Regions from separate parts of the Homo sapiens genome. Here region 2 is linked to region 1. The links are contacts of gene promoters, found by promoter capture Hi-C in human tissues and cell types (Jung and others, 2019). All regions are on one chromosome and are shown on one strand. The core of a region is centred on a gene start or on the middle of the fragment in contact, and the rest is flanking DNA. Distances in the headings are between cores, read along the strand shown. Region 1 holds the start of FCN2 (ficolin 2). Region 2 overlaps LOC105376313 (a long non-coding RNA gene).

Region 1 (3,357 bases), core at 470-2,969:
AAATGTAATCATTTAAATTCAGCATGTGATAAACTCAGAGTTCCAATAAAGTGATTCAATAGTTTATATGAATTCGGTAAGTTTTCCGCATAAATGCACTCTGCCAAATCAATTACTCAATTGGCCATTTTCTGTTGAAGTTATCCTGCACCCACTCCAATAGGCCAGATTCTCTTGATTATTGCAAGTACTTTAAATAGCATATTTTTTTAGATTTCTGAACACTAAAATATTAATATAATGTCTTTGGGCTTTTAAAGCCTTCTAGACTTAATTTTAAGTCATCTAGGTTTGAAAGATGCTTCTATTAGGAAGGACAAATAGCATGCAGTAAAGGAACCTGCCTAAGGACTCGGAATTTTGGCTGCTGGGGTTTCACTGGGCAGCTCTGGGGACCTGGCTCCTCTGCAGGTGACTTCAGGACTTTGAGGAAGATGCCCCCAAGCCATCTTTCTAGGTTCCATATCTGCATCTCCATGGAGCCTGTGTCTTCCCCAGGTTCATCCCTGGACCTCATCTGCATCTGGCATAGCCTTAATTAAGTCTTGAGAGGTCTGCCCTAAACACCACGGAACCCGAGGGGGGTCTTAACTAGTCATAGTCTCAGGACCACACATCTCCATGGGCATTGAAGGAAAATCCGATGGGATTTTGTTTCTCGCGTGGCTTTGCTGGGCTGGGGTCACAGTTTAAAATCCTTCTACTGATCTTGCCAAGGAAGAAGGCACCTCGGCATCCCGATGGCAGCAGGTGGCAGGGTGCGGTGGTGGTAGTGGGAGGTGCAGTGCTGGTTCCGTCTCTGGGGGCTTTAGGTATACGGCCTCTGGGGCCCCACCTGCTACTGTCTCTGTCTCTAACCTGGCTCAGTCCAAGGCGAGAGTGCACCTTCAGGCCAGCTCTTCTCCAAAAGGCGAACACAACCACTGAAGTAAGTCCACAGCCATCCTACAGGTGGGATGTCTGGCCTCAGGGCTCAGGGGGTTCCCTGGGCCCTAGGAGTGAAATTCACCTACTCTCATCCTCCCTACAGGCTAAGCCCCTGCATTCACACTCAAGGTCTCCCCTTCAGATGTGTACCTGGGTCATAGTCCCCCAGGCTCCCCACTCTTCTCTCCTTTCCCTCCTGTTCATGTGCCCCTGTGCTCTACATACTGCCCCAGGAAACAGTGGACACACACGCATTTTCCTCTCCTTTTCACCCTGGCAGCCTGCCTGGACCTCATAGTGGCAGTTTCCAAGCCTCCTGAGGAGAGTCCCAAGTCTGCTCATGATGTGGTGAGGGTTACTGTGTAAGGCCCACACCAGTGGCCCATGACCAGCCCTGGCCATGAGGACTCTAGGTATTCGGATAAGGGAGAGAGACCTCTTTGAAGCAGAACATCTTTAGCAAACCCTTCCTTGTTCCCCGTTCTCAGCTCATGGTGACATCTGCTCACCGCTGAACAAAGGTGGGAGGATGGGCCTGGGCTCTTTGCCCAAGGCCACAAGCAAGTCAGCCTGTTCCCTGGAAGGAGACCGTCCCCCTGCAGGGATGACAGTCGCCATGGGATCCCCAAGGGGCGGGGGGTAGGGAGCAGCCCTGGAGATGATCTCGCACCTCCTGCTGGCGTCACCAAGCCCGCGGAGAGGAAGCGGCTGTCACTCGGAAGATGAGAAATTGGAGTCTGAGGGAGGCTGGCTTCTCTAGCCCTATAAGAGGGCAGGCACCTTTTGAAGCAAAGACCAGAAGAGATGGAGCTGGACAGAGCTGTGGGGGTCCTGGGCGCTGCCACCCTGCTGCTCTCTTTCCTGGGCATGGCCTGGGCTCTCCAGGCGGCAGACACCTGTCCAGGTAAGGGCACTCCAGGGCCTCCTCCTGGAAACTTCTCGTCCCTGAAAGCTGGCAGCTTCGTGATTGGTGGCTTCCTGGCTTCCAGGCCTTGCACCAGGCCGTGTGGAGCATCGTCTAACGAGACAGCAGCTCTGCATGCCTCATCTTATGTGAACAAACGCAGAGGCCCCGAATGGATGTGGCATCTCAGAGACGGAGCTTCCTCTGCTTGCCCTCCCATAATGGAAACCGAGGCAGGTTTCCAGTCTCCCTGGGCCACATGTCCCCCTCTAAGCGTAAAAAGCGTAGTCATGGTGTTGTGTGGGGAGGTGAGGCTTGTGGTGCCAGCTGGGTAGACACCAGTCAGATATTCTGCCATGGTCGCCATCACAGAGAGACAGGGTGTGAGGTGGGGATAAGCACCCGGAAAGACAGGGTGTCAGGCGGGGATGAGCACTGCAGGACCTTTCCATCCAGGACCTGCTGGGCTCTGGAGATGGCAGTTCCCATGGTGTCCCTGATGCGGCACAATAAGGGTGGCATTGTCCCCGTGAGTTCTGGACCTCCTTCGGGGCTCCCGAGGGGACACTCGGGTGCCAAACCATGGGCTCCGGCGCATGCGAGGGCAGGTTGAAAATGCAGGTTCTGGAGTCAGGTCCTGACTCCGTCTACCCGGGGCTGGGATGCAGGGTCAGGAATTTGTGATGCTCCTGATGCTTGCAGAGATTCGTGTCAGGATTTCTGGAATGCATGTGAGACACAGAGCTCTGCGGTGTGCTGTGACTAGCATCGCATTCAAGGAGCAATCCGTGGCGTGAAGTGTGACACAGGCCAGGAACAGCGGGGATTCGCTTGGAAACTCCTAGTGGCTCGTTGTGGAGTGGTGGGGTTAGGGTGGCATTATTTTCTTCCTTAAATACTTCTAGAGTTTCTAAATGATCAAATAATAGCACGTGTTATTTTTGTAACACACTCACTTGAATTTGAGTTATCTAATTAAAAACAACAAGCTGCATTCCAGCTCTAGTTTCGCACCAACTTGTTCAGTGTCCTTGAAGGACGCCTCCCTCTGTGGAGGAACAAGGTGGACCCACAGGAGCCCATCCACTCTCAGATCTGCTCCAAGATCAGGCGTGGGAGTTGCAATGGTAGCCTCTCTCCCTGTGTCCTTCTCACCCGATATTGATTACAATGATATGATAGATGAGAACAGACGAGATTAGGATGCTGTCTTAAATGGTAGGAGCTGAAATGAACCTGCACCCCTCGGTAGGTAAGGGAACAGAGGCTCAGAGGGGTTAAGGGACTTGTTTCAGGACACACAGTACTGAGGAAGTAAGGTTTGCCTTCAGGCAGGGTAGCCTCCAAGGCCAGGGTTCTGCCCCAAATCACCTTTCTGCCTGACCAGTGCCCAAGAGGTGAGGACAGACCAAGTGCCCACCAGGGCAGGAAAACCTCCCTTCCAGGTGACCCTCCAGCTGAGGGAGGTGGCTGTGGCTATAGCCATCTGCCCAGTCCTGATGTCACCAAGATGGCAGATGCCTTTC
Region 2 (3,707 bases), core at 743-3,242, 66 kb after region 1:
CCACCCTTAGCCACCCTCCCCTGTTTGGCATTGCCCTCGCACCCCCTCTCGAGGGACACAGAAACCCCGCGTGTGGGTGTCCTCACTGCAGGTCTCCCTACCTGGCAGGCGGGGAATGTTTTGGGGCAGGTGGTGGGCAATGGAGGAGAAACAGTAAGCAGGGATTTCAGGAAGAAGAAAACGCCAGCAAGGTAAGCAGGTCAACAAAACCTCACCTGTGTCAGCTTGCACACCTTCTGTCACCAGAAAGCCTGACCTTAACCTTGCACTTGTCAGATCTGATCCTGGTCCTCAAAGAGCATGGAGACCCTCTTTATACAAATGGGAATACTGAGGTATGCAGTTCGAGAGGATTGACCGAGGCCATTTGGCTGGTTGAAGGTGGGTAAAGTCCTGGGTTCCTAATTTCTGCCAGGAGACCCTTGCTCCATTCTCTTCCCAGGGCAGAACCACACTTGGTCCTGGGGAAAGCCACCTGGAGAGCGGAGGGCAGAGGGTGGAGGGCAGAGGGCGGAGGGCAGAGGGCAGAGGGCAAAGGGCAGAGGGCAGAGGGTGGCGCGGAGGGTGGGGAAGCACCCCTGTCACCTCTGCCCATGCAGCCTACCCCGTCCCCAATTCACGAGACAGTTAACTTGGTTCTTGCCCTGAGCCAGGCCCTGGCCCGGAGCCTGGGGCCACAGGTGCCCTCAAATGCACATGGGACTCAGGCTCATCAGCAGTGGCCTCATGGCAGGAGGGTGGTCACTGTGGGCTGGGGGAGGCTGTGAGGCTCCTCTGGCAGCTCCACCTGCGAAAGCCAAGTCGAAGAGTGAGTTGAGTGTGTGCTGGCCCATCTGCCCCTTTCCCTCTCCGCTCAGGGCCCAGAGCCTCCCAAACAGGCAGCTGTGACTCTGATGAAGCCACCTGGTGCTGGGGGTGTGGGGTGGGGTTGGGGACAGCAGGGGAAGCCCACTACTTGGTAGTCCCAAATGTCACAGTCTGTGACCCATGAAGGATGGCTGGGCCACTCCTTGGGACAGGGTTACACCAGACACACACACAGATGTATTCACACCAGACACACACACACAGACACATTCACACCAGACACACAGACACATTAACACCAAAAACACACAGGTACATTCACACCAGACACACACACACAGACACATTCACACCAGACACACACAAAGACCATTCACAGCAGACACACACACAAAGACACATTCAGACCAGACACACACACAGACACATTCACACCAAAAACACACAGGCACATTCACACCACACACACACACAAAGACACATTTACACCAGATACACACAGACCATTCACTTCAGACAGACACACACACATTCACACCAGCCACACACAGACACATTCAAACCAGACACAGATACATTCACATCAGGCACACACACACAAAGACACATTCACACCAGACACAGACACAAACCATTCACACCAGACACATACACATTCACACCAGACACACACAAAGACCATTCACACCAGACACACACACATTCACACCAGACACACACAGACCATTCACACCAGACATACAGACTATTCACACCAGACACACACACATTCACACCAGACACACAGACACATTCACACCAGACACACACAAAGAGACATTTACACCAGATACACACACACAGACCATTCACTTTAGACAGAGACCATTCACACCAGACACACACACATTCACACCAGACACACACAGACCATTCACACCAGACACACACACATTCACACCAGTAACACACACAGACACATTCACACCAGACACACACAAAGATACATTTACACCAGATACACACACAGACCATTCACTTCAGACAGACACAGATACATTCACCCCAGACACACACACAAAGACACATTCACACAGACACAGGCAAAGACACATTCACACCAGACACACACACAGACACAGGCACACCCCTGCACACAGCCACTGTGCTCATGCATAGCCGGGTACACCTGCTTGCACACTCACACTCGCTCACCCCCACACCCCCCCCCCCGCTTCCTCACCCACTTTCTCTCCTGGTCCTGCAGTGCTTGTTCCCACTAGGTCCCTGGGGGGCCAGGGAGAGCCAGCCAGGCCCGCCACCATTCTCTCCCCGCAGAGCGATGCTGCGTGTCCAGAGCAGCGGGTGTGGGAGGCAGAGCCTGGAGCTCCCAGAGCCGGCGGCCCACGGCCTCGCCTCCAGCCAGGAGGGTGCGGAATTCTCCCCCACCCAGCAGAGGCTCTGGCCATCTGTCTCCAAGGATGCGGGGGAGCGGACCGGCTGTGCCGCTCTAGGGCTGCTCCGCCTGACAGACAGCAGTGTCGACCACCCATGTTTGCTGCACAGACTCTAGCTTCCACACCCCTCCCCACCCCAGCAGCCTGGGGAAGGAAGGCTGGAGGTCCCTGCATGACGGGTGAGGAGAGAGGACAGGAGCCCGGTGCTCTGAACACCGCCCCAGCCCAGCTGCACGTCAGGACCCCGCACTGGCCTCTTACATTGAGAAGCCAAGACCCACCCAAAACCCAGCTATCAAAGTCTCTGGGGACAGCACCAGCAGGGCAGAGGGCGTTGGTTCCCTTAGAATGTGCTAGAAGGCTCATCCCTGCAGGAGGTGCCCCTGCAGGCATCCTTGCCCCCACACTGCCTGGTGCTGCCCACCTGCTCACTTGCAGGTGACCCTAGTTTCTCAGTGGCTCGGCAGCCTCGCGGGCTGTTGTAACACTGACACCACGTCTGTGAGATCATTGGCTTGGAAGATTCAGCTCAGAATTGGATAGAAGGGCCCTGCCCTGCCAGGCACAGCTGCCGGCCCTTGTCACCTGCAGCTGCATGAGAAACTAAGGCTCAAACCAAATCCTTCTGGACAGAAAAGCAGGTCCCCCTCCACTACCCCTTCGTCTGGGCTCTCGGTCAGCGGGGTCAGGGTGGCCGGGACAGTCACTCTCATTTCCAGAGGAGGCGAGAGGCAGATGAAGGCCATGGACAGCAAGCCATGGGGCCACAGCACAGCCTCAGGTCGTTGCTGACACACCTGCGCCTCCCACAGCCCTCCCCAGGAAAGCCGCGGCAGAGCTCACCCCACTCCCAGGGTGCTCACCTGGGACCTCCTCACCTCTGCACCTGCCCTGGGTATCCTCAGCCGTGACCCTGGCCTGGCAGTGCCGGCGGACAGGTTGCAACCAGCCCAGCTCCCCAGGGGTGAGAGGGGCCCATCACCGGCCACCCACAGGCATCCCTGGGTCTGCTTTTTGGAGCAGTGTCCGGGGTTCCCTTCATATCCTTTATATCTATGTGAACCTGACCGGCACACTCACTCCAGGCCCAGGTGTTCTGTAAACACTGAACACCATGCTGTTAACCAAGGTTACGTTAAAAAGTGACTATGTGGCCAGGAAATAGATTTTGTATAGTTATGTGCTGTTAGGATAGATACGGGTTTTCGTCTGCGGCTCCTGGCTTATAACTCCCATAGCACTTGTTCCCATTTGCGTTAGAATGTTGGGGGTGTTGAGCCTCATGGGCAGCCTCTGCCTTCTCCTGCCCTCCTTTCACCTGCCCCAAGGCGGCACCCTAACTTTCTCCTGCCTTTCGGATTGTGGGTCTTAAGACCCTCCCATGAGAGGGTCCCATCCTATGCCATGGGGGAAGGAATGCTGACATCATGAAGCTTCCATAAAATCCCAAGAGGACTCGGTTCA

What was found. The method cuts DNA at HindIII sites, captures the fragments that hold promoters and counts their contacts. A contact is called where the count stands out against the background at its distance.
Region 2: a fragment that was not itself captured here is called in contact with the fragment with the promoter of FCN2 in region 1 in 2 of the 25 tissues and cell types used here (adrenal gland and lymphoblastoid cells).

Annotation. Positions count from the first base shown.
Region 1 is chr9:134,879,091-134,882,447 of GRCh38, forward strand. It overlaps FCN2 (ficolin 2), which reads left to right and starts at 1,720. Exons shown (of 8, transcript NM_004108.3): 1 at 1,720-1,831. The coding sequence starts at 1,732. The HindIII fragment of the contact is 19,799 bases long and covers 1-3,357 here.
Region 2 is chr9:134,945,192-134,948,898 of GRCh38, forward strand. LOC105376313 (a long non-coding RNA gene) reads left to right here. Exons shown (of 3, transcript XR_930421.3): 1 at 1-191; 2 at 277-381; 3 at 2,125-3,707. LOC124902302 (a long non-coding RNA gene) reads right to left here and starts at 507. Exons shown (of 2, transcript XR_007061846.1): 1 at 216-507. The HindIII fragment of the contact is 7,666 bases long and covers 1-3,707 here.